3 separate regions of the Homo sapiens genome follow, and all the other regions are linked to region 3. The links are contacts of gene promoters, found by promoter capture Hi-C in blood cells and fetal thymus (Javierre and others, 2016). All regions are on one chromosome and are shown on one strand. The core of a region is centred on a gene start or on the middle of the fragment in contact, and the rest is flanking DNA. Distances in the headings are between cores, read along the strand shown. Region 1 has its middle 24 kb from the start of MPRIP. Region 2 has its middle 13 kb from the start of SMCR2. Region 3 holds the start of NT5M (5',3'-nucleotidase, mitochondrial).

Evidence for each region. Contacts are between HindIII fragments. The CHiCAGO score rates a contact against its expected background, and 5 or more counts as called.
Region 1: a fragment that was not itself captured here is called in contact with the fragment with the promoter of NT5M in region 3 in 3 of 17 cell types (non-activated CD4 T cells, activated CD4 T cells and naive CD4 T cells); the score reaches 7.7 in non-activated CD4 T cells.
Region 2: a contact is called between a fragment that was not itself captured here and the fragment with the promoter of NT5M in region 3, in 1 of 17 cell types (M1 macrophages). The highest score is 6.3, in M1 macrophages.

Annotation. Positions count from the first base shown.
Region 1 is chr17:17,016,255-17,021,305 of GRCh38, reverse strand. No RefSeq gene overlaps it. Among named protein-coding and RNA genes, the nearest start is that of MPRIP, 24 kb to the left of the region's middle. RefSeq lists an enhancer at 587-1,534. The HindIII fragment of the contact is 4,056 bases long and covers 1-3,322 here.
Region 2 is chr17:17,662,647-17,667,532 of GRCh38, reverse strand. No RefSeq gene overlaps it. Among named protein-coding and RNA genes, the nearest start is that of SMCR2, 13 kb to the left of the region's middle. RefSeq lists enhancers at 1-58, 3,711-3,850, 4,341-4,430. The HindIII fragment of the contact is 158 bases long and covers 3,152-3,309 here.
Region 3 is chr17:17,300,865-17,305,182 of GRCh38, reverse strand. NT5M (5',3'-nucleotidase, mitochondrial) reads right to left here and starts at 1,810. Exons shown (of 5, transcript NM_020201.4): 1 at 1,366-1,810. The coding sequence starts at 1,632. RefSeq lists silencers at 1,241-1,430, 1,561-1,660, 1,711-1,880 and an enhancer at 3,854-4,318. The HindIII fragment of the contact is 19,177 bases long and covers 1-4,318 here.

The DNA of each region.
Region 1 (5,051 bases), core at 45-2,544, 280 kb after region 3:
GCGTGGGTGTTTTCAGGACTCCGGCGGATTCTGGGAATGTCTCTGCCTTCCCAAATCGCCAGTTCCCGGAGGAGGACAGGACCCTCACCCACCTCCTCACTAAAGGAGAAACTGAGGCCCAGAGCAGGGTAGGGACTTGTCTGAGGTCATGCCTGCTTTGTTGGTGAGAATCGGACCTTACTTACCATTTCTGGGTCACAGGCTCCTTTGACAATGTGAAGGAAATTCTAGACCCATTACTCCAATGCCCAAGGGCCAGGCCTGCGGTGTTGATGGCTGGCATGGTCTGCTCGGCATGGGATTTGTCTGGAGCCCATGTCCCCCACCTCTGGCTCACTGTGGCCCTGCAGGGCACCCGGTCGTCCAGTGTTTCAGAGGAGCCAAAGAGCCATCTTTCTGTGTGAAAGCTACTCATGTTCAAATGTTGGCAATGCATTAAAAATGTAAAACTAGACCGGGCACGGTGGCTCACGCCTGTAATCCCAGCACTTTGGGAGGCCAAGGCAGGCGTATTACGAGGTCAGCAGATCGAGACCATCCTGGTTAACATGGTGAGACCCTGTCTCTACTAACAATACAAAAAAATTAGCCGGGTGTGGTGGCGGGTGCCTGTAGTCCCAGCTACTCGGGAGGCTGAGGCAGGAGAATGGCGTGAACCTGGGAGGCGGAGCTTGTAGTGAGCTGAGATGGCGCCACTGCACTCCAGCCTGGGCAACAGAGTGAGACTCCGTCTCAAAAAAAAAAAAAAAAAAAAGGTAAAACTATATATTATGTCAGCCCAATTAAACATCTGTGGGCCAGATGCGGGCTGAGGACCACCAGAATGGGACCCTTGCTCTCGATCCTCTTCCTGTGAAAAAGCGCACACCATAGCATGGGCCTGGGAAGCTCATCACCCAGGCAAGAGGCCTGTCACCTGAAGCTGGTGGCCATGCGGTTTCCGTGACAGGCACTGGTGGAGTTGACAGAGTTCTGGACAAGGAGTCGCAGGCTGGCCGTCAGGCTGGCTTGCCCAGACTTGCCATGAGGAACTCCACAAGCATCTCTTTCCAGTTGAAGAGCCTGGAGCCCAGAGTGGCCGAACAAGCTGGCCAGGCCCCCCGCCGAAGGAGTCAGGGAGCTGGGAGGAGGTGAGGTCAGAGCGGAGGTGGCTCATCACTCCGGGCCGTGGCTTGAGGAAGCAGAAGAGGGTGGGATCCAACTTTGTTCCTGCACTTGGCCCTTAATTTGTTGAAGCTCAGTGGTCAGTTCACATCGGGGGTCAGAGTGACTCTGGGGTGCGAGATGACTAAGTACCCACAGGGCCCAGGCTGGGGACACAGCCTTCCCAAGGAGTCAGACACAGCCAATTCTCACTCCTGGACAGGGAGGTGAGCACAACATACCAATAACAAGCTCTGGGGACCCTGGATAGGGGGCTGGGCCGCCTGGCCTTTCGCCTGCTGCCCAGTTGTGTGTGAGAGGCAGTAATCACCTCCCTGGTTCAATTTCCTTCTCCCTTCCCACCCAAAGTTTCTTACCTGACAGATTGGGGGCAGTGTGGGGTGGTGAGAAGAGAGCAGTCTGGGACCAGGTGCACCTGTCTAGGTACAATTCTGGGCCAAGGGACCTTGGGCCATTCCCTTCCCTTCTCTGAACCTGTTTCCTGAAGTGTTAAGTGAAAAGGGGCAGTGGAGAGTGGGGCACGAGGTCACCAATGGAAAGCCACGTCTGGGCCACTTCACGCCCTCTCCCCTTCCCAGGTGCCCTGCAGTGAAAATGGTCACATCCCAGCTGTCGCTCTCCCTTCCTGTGGTCCAGATCCCAAGTCCTGACTGCAGAGTCTGCTAAAAACACAAATCGAGTCTGGCCACCTTCCACCTCACCCTCTCCTCTTGGCTCCTCCATGCCCCCAGAACCACACTTGGTTGCCCCCATGGCTTCCTGGCCCTGAGGCCTGCTCCCCACCCCCGCTGCCATGTCCTTTCTCCCCACTGCCAGCCTCTGTTCAGGACCTCAAAATCCTCATTCTTTCCTGCCTCGGGACCTTTGCACTCACCATGCCCCAACCCAAGCTAGTCTTTGTAGTCCGCCCCCTCCAAGCCACCTTCCCCACTCCCCCAAAACAACCTCCTCTGTCCTTGGCCCTCAGAGCTGCCCATGGAGCTGCCACCATCCCCCTGCCTTGAGTTCCCATCTCCCTGTGTGCCCACTTGGTTCTCATCTGCCCCCTGCCCCACCAGGATGGAAGATCCATCAGATTAGGCAGCAGACCCCTCCTGCCCGTCCCATGTCCCCAGCTGAACTGGAATGTTCAGCAACCATGAATGAATTCTGGAATCTATATTGGGCCTTAGACAGGCCAAACACTCTGTCCTGGGCTGTGGCCCTGGGCAAGTCTGGTGTGAGCCCTGTCTAGGGAGGGGCCCTGGAGGGGGAAAGCTGCCTGATGGTCCTCGCCTGAGGACACCTGCCCCTGAGCGTGGATATGGGCCCTGAAGCTCTGTACCCGGCCAGACAGGTTCGACAGGATTGCTGTGGACAGAACTCACTCAGCCTCTGTTCAGAACAGCGTGTCCCTCACCTGCGGGAGGTCTGAGGGCTCCTGGCCCAGGAGGTCTGGCTGAGCCTCTCTCTCCCTGGCCTGGGGACTCTTCCTCAGCCTCCCTGGCCTTCAGGGCCCACCTCACCATCCTCCAACAACACCTACCAGGAGTCTGCGATGCACAGGGGCTCTGCCTGGAGTTGGGGGTTCAGCGGTGAGCAGGAAGGATGGATCCCAACCTTTTGTGGGAGTCATAGTTCAGGAACATCAGGTGACATCGAGTGGCTAGGGCCTGAGAGTGGGGATACATGTATGTCTCTGGGAAGAGCCCTGGCTATGGTGGGCTCCCCCGACCTGAGAGGAGGATCTGAGCGTATGTGGAGGGGTCCAGAAAACACCAGTTGCTGAGTCAGGAAATGAGGCAGGAAGTGAGGCAGGCAAGAGAAAGAGCCGAGGCAGGCTGTGCCAGGGAGCACTCTGGGCACCTGAACCTCCATCCCTGGGGGAGGATCCCTTCCTGGCGGGGTGGAGGGGGTGACAGGGAGCGCTGTGGGCACATGGAGCTCCCTCCCTGGGGGAGCAGAACATACCTCAGAGGCTCCCCAGCCCGGCCAGCCAGCTGGGGTGTTGAACCCAACTCTCACGGGCATTGGCTGCCAGCAGTTCTGGGTTGATGGTGATGGAGCTGGTTCTGCGGTTCCCCGTGGGGTGCAATGTGTCGCAGAGAAAGCCCCAGGCAGCCAGAAGCACGGCCCATATCCTTGTGGCCGGGCCTGGGGTGTGGGTACTGGGAAAGCTTCTGCCACAATCTCTAAGGCCCTTTTCATGGCCATGGAAGGAGTGCTCACTCCCACATAGTCACATCTCTCACCCAGTGCCACGGCCTGCCTGCTAGAAACACCATGGCCACCACAGTGTTCCCAGGTACACTCAGAATAAAAGCCTGTCAGACCAACGAGCAGGATCCCACCTGTGTCCAAGCCATCCTGCCTGACTGCTTTGGCTCACTCTCTCTGTCCCAGCCAGTCTGGAGCCACACTTTATTGCAGCGCTTCGGCTCCTTCCAACTGCACGGCCTTCCCTGGGCCACTTCCCCTGCCTAGAAGGCTCTTTGCCCATTGTTTCCATTTCTGCCAGGTCTTGGTTACATGGTCTTGGTTGGAGGATGGTCTCTCTGATCGACACCCCTGCCCGTGGGACCCTCTCCCTGTGGCCTCCATGCTCAAAATGCTCATTCTCACCTGCCTCAGGGCCTTTGCACTTGCCATGCCCCAACCCAAGCTAGTCTTTCCAGGCCATCTTCTCCAAGCCACCTCCCCACTTCCCCAAACAGGCTCCTCTGTCCTTGGCCTACAGGGCAGCTATGGTTGCCTTTGCATGTGGAGTTGGTGCTCACTATGGCACAGCCCTGCCTGTAAGCTGGGGAATCCAGCCATTGAGGAGTGCTTGCCAAGAGAAAGAACGAACCCTCAACAGTGATTCAGAAAGGGTCTCCTGGACCCACATGTGTCCCCCAACACAGTGTGTGACCTGGGACAGCTCCCCCTCTGCACCGCATCTCCTCTGTCCACTGTGGTGATTGGTCCCCAAAATCCCCAAGGGCCCTGCTGGCCCTGGCCTTTGAAGCTCTGGGACACAATTATCAAGGGAGACCCACTACCTACACTCCCAGAGCTGAGAGCCCAAACAAGCTCTTAAATCAATCAGCGACATCACCTTCCAAGTGAAGAAAACAGGACCTCTGGCCTAGACATGAGGACAGGGCGGAGGAGGCTGCAAACGCCCCTGAGCGAGCTGGCTAGGAAGGGTCACTAGTTGCCTGGACCTGGAAGTTGAGGGACCCACAGAGAAAAGCAGGGAATCTCAGCTGGAAGATGGGGACGACATCAACTCAGACCCTCAGACTCAACCTGGTAAGGGAGAGTGGATACATCAAGACTCCTCACACCATTGAAATCAGCTCTGGCTAAGTCTAGCCAAGGCAAAGCAAGCAAGGAATGTGCTGGGAGGTTATAGGTTAGCTCACAAAACCAAAAGAAGAAGTAAAAAACCACATCCTGGAAAGGACTGGTTTGGATATGAGTTTTAGGTAGCCGAACGGGAAGCCCTTGGATGAATGAATTCTCTCTGCTTTCATCCTCAAGTCACTCTACTCAAGATCCAAATTTCCTTAATATATAAAGAGCTCCTAACAATCAATAAGACAAATAAAACTTCAATAGAAAAAACTTCCACAAGTATGGACATGAACAGATAGTTCACAGAACAGGAAGTAGAAATGGTCCTGGAGCTTATAAACAATGTTTAGCCTTATTTATAATCAGAGAAGTGCAAATGGAAACTAGAGTTCAAGACTATTTTTCAACTATCAGATTGGCAATCATCCAAAACTGTGATAACACTGTGTCACCGTGGGTGTGGGAGACAAGCTCTCTCACACATTACTGGTGGGAGTATAAACTGGTAAGGCCACTATCAACATTTTTTTTAATGCACATGCCTTTTGATCTGAAAACTTACTCCTAGA
Region 2 (4,886 bases), core at 1,981-4,480, 360 kb before region 3:
AATCCTGGTCATTCTCCAAAACCAGCTCACCCTCTGGCTTCTGGGAACCTGGTGAGGCACCAAGAAGGTGGGTGCTTGAGTCAGCCAGAGGGCTCATGCTTCTGCCCTGCCACCTGTTGCTGTGTGACCTTGGGCAAGTCACATCACCTCTGAGCAGGCACTTCCTCCCCCTGTAACTTGGAGCTGCTAACAGCTTCTCTGTGGGGCCGTTCAGAGGTAAGCTGCACAGAGGACTTAGCTGTTGCTTCTGTGAGCCTTGGTTTCCTAATCTGTCAAGGGCTGTGGGAAGATGAAGTGAGACACTGTGGAGGCCCAGCTTGGAGGCCACGGTGTGCCTCCCCTGAATTCATACCTTCCTGCTCCCAGGACCTACCCATCCGTCTCTCTGTGCTCCTCACTCTACTTCTCTGAGAGCCCCACTGTTCTGGGGAGCTCTCACCAGCCATGGTCACAGGCTCTTGGGGCCTATGGTGTCAGCGCTGATGGGGTCTCAGGTCTGTCACTGTACCCGGCCCCACAGCCAGAGCTAAGTTTGGGAGCTGGCCACGGAGTGTCTGCGGCTCATGATGGTAGGCTGAAAAATGGCCCCTAAAGATATCCAGGTCCTCATCCCTGGAACGTGTGGGTGTCCCCTTTACAGCCAAAAAATGGGCTCCTGCAGATGTGCAAAGTTAAAGGTCTTGAGATAAGGAGATGATCCTGGGCTATCTAGGGGTTCCTTAAATGCTGTCCCTAGTGTCCACAACAGAGAGAGGCTGAGGGAGACTCGACAACACAAGCACGGAGGAGGAGACTGCGCGGCCACCGAGGCAGAGACCAGAGTGATGCAAACACAGCCAGGGATCACCAGGGCAGCTGGCTGAGGCTGCAAGGGGCCCTGCACAGGTTCTCCCCTGGCGCCTCCGAGGGGGCACAGCCCCACAGACGCCATGACTCGAGACCAGTGATACTGATTTTGGACACCCAGTCTCCAGAACTGCAAGAGAATCATTTCTGCTGTTCTAAGCCCCGACATGTGTAGTAACTCTTTACAGCAGCAACAGGGAACGAACACTCACAGCTTAGGATTTCCTGGCTACCGCCCAGACCTCGCCCTGCCTCATGTCCATCCAGAGCTGGGCGTGAGTGTGTAGGGTGTGCAGGTGGCCATTTACTCCTGTAGGCCAGCAGGGGCCCGGGGATCCTGGGCAGGTAGAGGGGATGGAGGATGGACAGGCTCTGGAAGCCCAGACCACGTGGATGTTCTGTGAACTGCTGGACCCTCAGCCCAGGCCCAGGAGCATGGGAGGAGTAAGCCACAGAGCATGTGTTGGCTGCTTGTGTCCACACACAGCTGGGGGGTGTGTTTGGTGCATGTCCACGTGGTGGGTTGTGCGGGTATAGAGGTGGGGAGTAGGCACTTGTGCACCTGGTATAGACCCAGTGGAAAACCCAGGTGTGCCAGAAACAGCCAGCTTCCTTTTTTCTTTTTCTTTTTTTTTTTTTTTGAGATGGATCTCACTCTGTCACCCAGGCTGGAGTTCAGTGGTGTGATCTCGGCTCACTACAACCTCCACTTCCCGGGTTCAAGCGATTCCCCTGCCTCAGCCTCCCAAGTAGCTAGGATTACAGGCGCCGGCTGCCACGCCCGGCTAATTATTTTGTATTTTTAGTAGAGATGGGGTTTCAGCATGTTGGCCAAGCTGGTTTCGAACTCCTGACCTCAAGTGATCCACCCTCCTCGGCCTCCCAAAATTCTGGGATTACAGGCATGAGCCACCACGCCCAGCCCCTTTTTTTCTTTAAATCATCTTACATCCTGTTCTAAGCCCCTATCCTGCTGGCTGGTGGGCAACTGAATCTCAGCCATTATTGGGAGCTTCTTTCTTCTCCAGAGCCACACAAAGGTCCCAAGGCCATGATGAGTCTGGCCACCGGGTCTGGCAAAGGAGGCCAGCAAAGCTCTCTGAGACAAGCTAGGGACCAGGCTGCCTGCACTGGAGCATGGGGTGGGGTTAGTAAAACAGAACAAAACCAAAATTAATATCTGCTGTTTGTCTAGAACCCTGGAGCTTTGCTGCTCAATATGGTTGTCATTAGCCACGTGTAGCTAGGTACATTTCAATCAATTTAAAAGAAATAAAACTTAAAATTGTGTGTGTGTGTGTGTGTGTTTCTTTTAGAGTCTCACTCTATCACCCAAGCTGGAGTACAAATGGTGCGGTCTCAGCTCACTGCAACCTCCACCTCCCGGGTTCAAGCGATTCTTCCGCTTCAGCCTCCCTAGTAGCTGGAACTATAGGCACATGCCACCACACCCGGGTAATTTTTGTATTTTTGGTAGAGACAGGGTTTCACTCTGTTGGCCAGGCTGGTCTTGAACTCCTGACCTTGTGATCCGCCTACCTTGGCCTCCCAAAGTGCTGGGATTACAGGCATGAGCCACCGCGCCCGGCCTTTAAAATTGTTATTATTATACTAGTCACTTTCTGGTGTTCAGGAGCGGTGTGTGGCCACCCTGTGGGACCTGGTATAGGAAGTTCTATTGGGCTGTACTGCCAGAAGCGTTCAACCACTGACATGAGTTCTGCCCCTCTGAGTGGGGTGACCTGCCCATTTACAGATGGGGATGCAAGGATCAAGCACAAAATGACTTACCCAAGGTCACTGGCAGCAGTTGGCACCTCCAAGCTCCATGGGCAGTGGCACCCCGGGCCACGGGGTAGAGTGGGTGCTTGCCAATGTTGGCTGCTGAGTGAACGTGCCAGTGCCGTCCTCTGCCTCCTTGGAGGAAAGCTGCCTGTGAAGAACAGTCCTGCCCTCGTTCAGAGGTACGGCCTCCTGATCTCAGCCTGGTAAGGCACTGTGTGGCTCTAGCCCTACCTCAGGTACCACACTTTGCCTCTTTGGGACCCTGTGTCCCCGTCCATGAGATGGAGATTGTGACCACTGCATAGGGCTGCCTGGGATTTCCATGAGTTAATGTCTGTGAAGTGCATAGTACAATCTAACTCAATCATACGACGTTTGAGAGATGATGGGATTTGGCACACAGGAATGAGCACTGCGCCTCCTCAGAGTGACTCCCAGAGGTCAAGTTGGGATTTACTTAGACTGAGACCCGCAACCTTATCATGCTTCTAGCATTCATCTGACAAACATCTATTAAGCTTGCTTTTGGGGGCCACGACCGATGTAAGCCTGCAGCTGTGAGGTCTACCCTAGGCTAGGGAAGGTTATTCTGAGAAGAAAGTGAACCCCAAGGAAGGGGAAATCCAGAAGAAGATTCCTGATGACATCTGACAGCTGGATCCAGCTGTTCCTGAAGCTTTTATATTCCTGTTTTGTTTGCCAATAATTTTTTTTGTCATTTACAACTCAAAGCCAGGCCGTCTGGTCCAACCCCTTGTCCCCTGATACTTGATGCTTCTCCATAGCAGCTATGACAGTCTCTGCTTGGATGCTGCTCATGATGGGGATCTCACTACCTACCAAGGGAGCTCTACAAGGGCAGAACCAACTCTGGTGCAAGTGAGAGCTGATAATCTATTGCTCTTGTCTGGAAATGGTGTGCACAGCTGGGAGCTCCCCTGGATTGGATTCAGGGCAGTGGAAAGAGGACCCTTCATGGTTCAGTAGACCTGAATTCAAATTTCAGGCCTGGTGGTGACTCACTGTGTGACCTGAGTGAGGCAAGGGACTTCCCCTACCTGAACCTCAGTTTCAACATCTGTAAAATGGTCTCCCTGGCCACACTGATTTGGTGAGGACACCACGAGGATTAAGCAAGAAAATGTGTGTGAAGCTCTGGGCGCACGCCAGTGTGTGGCACACAGGGGACACCTGAGGGCCACATCCCTCCTGTGGGTAATGCTAATGGACACTGCACACCCATCTGAGAGGGTCCACTCTGCGTCCATAAGAGGTTGGCACTGGGGAGTCCGCACTGGGCCAGGCTGCTCCTGCTCTGCGGAGCGTCTGCTGCAGCTGTGACTCACAGCCCGACCACACTCACAGCCCAAGACTCGGAGCCGTCTGTTGTTATGGCGACGCAAGCCCACTGGAGTCCTGGGCTGTCAGTCATCAAGGTCTGACGCTGGGGGTGTGTTTTGGCGTGTGGGTGTGGCCTGTGTGTTTGTGTAGGGGGATGGGCGTGTGAATGCTATTCCTGCGTGTTCAAGGCAGTGTGCTGGTGTTTGTGTGTGGACTTCCTGTGTGTGCAAGGCTGGGCATGTCTGCATTGAGGGCGTTTGTCTGTGTGTGGTGTTGAGCTGTGTGTGCGGTCTGGGTGTCTGTGGGCTGTGTGTGTGTGTAATGTGCCTTAGGAACGCTGGCCCTGAGGCAGGGTGGACAGGAGGGTGGCCCAGGGAGGGGTGTAGGCCTGGGTGTCTATCGCTCTGACCTGGTGGCCCTGGGTTGGTCACTGCACCTTTCTCAGCCTGTTTCCCCCTCAATAAGCACAGCAGGTTGCAAAGGGCACTCACACTCGCTATTTCATTTAATCCTCCTGTGATCCTGTACCAGCAGCTGCTCACTCAACTCATATTTAGAGTCCACTCTGTGTCAGGCCCTGGGGATACAGCCATGAACAGAGACTTCCTCCGCTGAGGGTCTCCAGTCTCCAGTCTGGTGGGAGATGGACAATACACAAACAAGCAAACAAAACCAGAGACTCCAGTGGGTGCTGGGAGAAGGAACAGCAGGAGGAGGGCACAGAGAGTGATGGGGTGGAAACTGAGGACAGGGTGGTCAGAGAGGTGACTTATGAGCAGAGGTTCTGAGGAAGGAGGCCAGAGTCATGGGAAGAGCATCGCAAGCATCGCAACAGTAAGTGCAGAGGCCCTGAGGCAGGTGGAGGTTCATGTATCTGTGGCCCAACGAGCAGGCCGCGCACTGCAGCGGTGTGG
Region 3 (4,318 bases), core at 561-3,060:
CTGCACTTTTCGGAGTTGGGGGTGGGCTTGGTTTCCACGTTAATACACTCCCGGGCGGATATATGGTGTCCAGACTCCCCATGCCGAGCGCTGCCTATAAATGAACACTCGCCACACACTGGAGCCTATTCCTGAGGCTGCAGAAAGTACCAGGGCATTTTCTCCAGTTTAAAGTTTATCATTAGGCATCCGCTGTAGAAGAGCTCAGCACACTGGGCTCTGTGAAAGTCACCTTCTGAAGTGCCTGGTGTTGATGGAGACAAACGGTACTTGGTTTCCTTTTTTAACACCTGTCCCTCAACAAACCACATTACTGATGAGGCATCTTTCTGATGTCAGAAGAAATGTCACTTGTTAGAGACAGTAGTACAGAGAACAGGACTGTGGAGTGGGGAGCACTAACTGTGCTTGGGAGGCAGACAGACTTGGGTTTGAGTCCTGACTGAGCCCCTGAGCAGCATGTGACTTGGGGCAAGTTTCCTCATCTGGAAAACAGAGATAATAATATCTACCCAACAAAAGAGAGGATGCAGTGAACTTGTGGCTAAAAAACGGGCTCTTGTAACTTCCTTCTCCTCTTTATCAAACCCTCCAGCAGCAACCCTAGGTGGCCAATCAAGGGATGCCAAAAAACACTCAGCCTCTTTAATTTTGTGCATACCAAAATCCCCTGTTCCTTTTGCAAAATACTTCAAATTTACCAACCAAGATCTGTGTGTAAACGTCCCTCCTTGGATCTTTCCCCTCTATCCATCCTGGACAGAACACCTCGGGAGTCGGATGGTAGGGGTTGAGCTCAGGTGTTCAGCAAGGCCAGCTCTGCAAGGGGATAAGACATGAGGTGGATCCCACCTCACCTGGACCACTGACTCACTGTGTGACCCCCAGAAAGTCACACAACCTCTCTGGGCCTCAAATACCCCTGGAAGCTATGCTTTCATGGACAACAGTAAAAAAGATGGGTAAAGACACCCATCAAAGTCCTGGGGACAAAGAAGTGGGAATGTGACTGCGGTCGGGGTGAAAGAGGACAACTTATAACGTTTATTTTTCTAAAAATTTAACAAACGACTTGAGGCCAAATATGCCACAAATTTTGAAGTCAGCTTTAAATGCAGAGTTAGGTATATTAACACTTTGTACTCTCCCGCATTTTCAGAAACCTTGGATGGCAGCCAACAGATCCTGAGCGCGGGGCCGCATCTTCCCGGTGCGCTGTGGCCCCTAGTCCCCCCCAGACCCTATTCTATCAGAGGGCCACCCCGAGGCTGGGGCGCTGACCGTCCAAGGTCACCGGCGCAGGGGCGGTGTCTGGGGCTCGGGGCGAGAAGGAGGCCCGGCGCGGGGCGGGGCGGGGACGCTCACGCTCAGCCCTGGCCGCAGGCGGCCGTACTGCTCCGACACCCAGAAGCCGCGCCGGTCCTCCAGCGCGATGAAGGGCTGGTCGGGAAAGCGCGCGCGGAACTTCCTGAGGAATCCGCCCTCGAAGTCAGCCAGCACGCCGTCCATGTCCACCAGCACCCGTAGGGCGCGGCCTCCCGCCAGGCCCAGCCCGCCCGCCGCCCCGCGCCGCCCCGCGGGAACCGCCGCGCTGCAGAGCCGCCGCGCACACCAGCCGCCCAGCCGGATCATGGCCCAGCGCGCTGGCCCGTCGTGGGCGCGGGGACCTGGGCCGCGCCGTGCTGCCGGAGCCGGCCAGACATTCCCGCCGCGGAGGAGAAGCCCCCAACGCTGGGGCGCGCGTGGAGCGCGGGACGGGGAGCGGGGCGGGGAGCGCGGGGTGCGGGCGCGCAAGTACCGGCCCCAGAGCGAGGCCGCGGCGCGCGCGGTCCCTAAAGGAACACGCGCCGGCGGAGGCGGAGCCCCGGGGCGGGGCTTCGAGGACGGACAGCGGTAAGCGCCGCGCGCCTCCAGAAGGTCCGCGCTCCCGCGCTGTCGATTTGCGTCTTCTCCGTGGACCCTGGGCCCGGGCTGCCTTCTCCCACTGCACAGACTACCATGGAGGAGCAGTGCAAACCGAGAAGCAGGCCTGTGTCGTTAGACATTTTTGAGCACTAACTGTGTCGAGTGTGAACCAAATAGACAAAGTTCCTGCCATCCTGGAACTTACGTTTTAGAAGGGGATCCAGACAACAGGATGGAGGAACAAAAACAGGGTGCACTCTGAAAGCCTCTCTGCTTTATTTACAGCAAATGTCTGCGGAGAGACTGATAGAACCAATATCTGCTAACATCATACAGCCTTAGTAAAACTGATGATTCTCAGGTAAATATATGAATAAATATTAAGTACCCCTGTATTGCTTTTTTTTTTTTTTTTTTTTGGAGACGGGGTCTTGCTCTGTTACCCAGGGTGGAAGCAGTGGCATGATCTCGGTTCCCTGCAGCCTTGAGTTTCTGGGCCCAAGGGATCGTCCTGCTTCTGCCTCCTGAGTAGCTGGGACCACAGGGGCCTGCCACCACACCCTGGTAATTTTTTTTTTTTTTTTTTTTTTTTTGAGACAGGAGTCTTCCTATGTTGGGCTCAAACGATCCTCCCACCTCAGCCTCCCAAAGTGCTGGGATTACAGGCGTGAGCCACCGCGCCCGGCCTCTTTTCAACTTTTAAGTACAGGGATACATGTGCAGATTTGTTATATAAATTGACTGTCTTGGGGGTTTAGTGTACAGATTATTATTACCCAGGTAATAAGCGTAGTTCCTGATAGGTAGTTTTTCCATCCTCACCCTCCTCCCACTCTCCACCCTCAAGTAGGTCACCGTGTCTGTTGTCCCCATCATTACGTCCATGTTTACTTAATGTTTAGTTCCCGCTTTTAAGTGAGAGCATGAGGTATTTAATTTTCTGTTCCTGTGTTTGCTTAGGATAATTGTCTCCAGCTCCATCCATATGGCTGCAAAAGACATGATCTTATTCTTTTTTTATGACTGTGAAGTATTCTATGGTATATATGTACCACATTCTCTCCCTTTTTTTTTTTTTTTTCTTGATAGGGAGTCTTGCTCTTGTTGCCCAGGCTGGAGTGCAGTGGCAGGATCTCGGCTCACTGCAACCTCCACCTCCCAGGTTCAAGCGATTCCCCTGCCTCAGCCTCCCAAGTGGCTGGGATTACAGGCGCCCACCACCACACCCAGCTTTTTTGCATTTTTAGTAGAGACAGGGTTTCACTATGTTAGCCAGGCTGATCTCCAACTCCTGACCTTGTGATCTGCCCGCCTCGGCCTCCCAAAGTGCCGGGGTTACAGGTGTGAGCCACCGCACCCGGCCGATTTTTGTATTTTTAGTAGAGACAGGGTTTCACCATGTTGGCCAGGCTGGCCTCAAACTCCTGACCTCAGGTGATCCGCCCCACCCCCCTCGGCCTCCCAAAGTGCTGGGATTAAAGGCGTGAGCCACTGCACCCAGCCTGTGTTACAGCTCTTTTAGCCCCACCATTTGGCAGGTCCCGAGTTCTTGTCCTGCATCCAGGAAGAATGGGGTAGGCAGACAAGTGGAGAGTGAGCAAGACGAAGAGGAGCTTTATTGAGCAACAGAATACTTCAGAAGAGACCTGCAGTGGGCAGCTCCTCTCCATAGCCAGGGTTTCCCCACAAGTGTTCAGCTTTCAGCAGAGAGGGTAGCTCCTCTCTGGTAGGCAGTTCATCCCAACAAGTGTCCAGCTCTCAGCAGAAAGGGTAGTTCCTCTCTGCAGCTGGTTTTCTCCCCATCTACCCGTCCTCTCTTTGAGTCTGGCTGAGTCCAGGGTTTTTTATGGACCTCAGAGGGGAAGAAGTGAGTGCTGATTGGTCCATGGGCGGCCATAGGTGGCCATGAGCAGGCCTGGGGAAAAGCACCACAAGTTCCCCGCTCTGGTACTGGGACTGGTGACCTGGCCCCCAGGCTTCAGGCCCTTCCAGGATTGAAGGTGGGGCTTCACCAGGGACCCGCCCCCTTCCACCGAGGAGCTGTCTGCATTCCTGCTGCTGTTCATGGCGCCCAGGCTGTTCATGCCAAGGGGTACCTGCAGGCCAACACCAGGCTGTCCTCATGCCCCCCTCGGCCGTTCTCCGATGCTTGTTGGCACCCAAGTCCGGAGGGGGCCAAGGAGGCAGGGGGCTGGCGTGTCAGTGCTGCCCTGAGCGTGTGCACTCCCGGCTGGGCTGTGACGGCGCCCTAGCTCGGCCCGACTTTGCTCCGAGATTGAAGCAGGCACCAACAGCAGGGAGAAGCCAGGCAGCAGGAGCAGGCACTTCCGAGCCTGCGAGGGGCAGTGGAGCCTTCACAGGTTCCCAAGAGCACAGAGATGCTGGGCCAGAGCCGCAGCAGGGCAACTGCAGC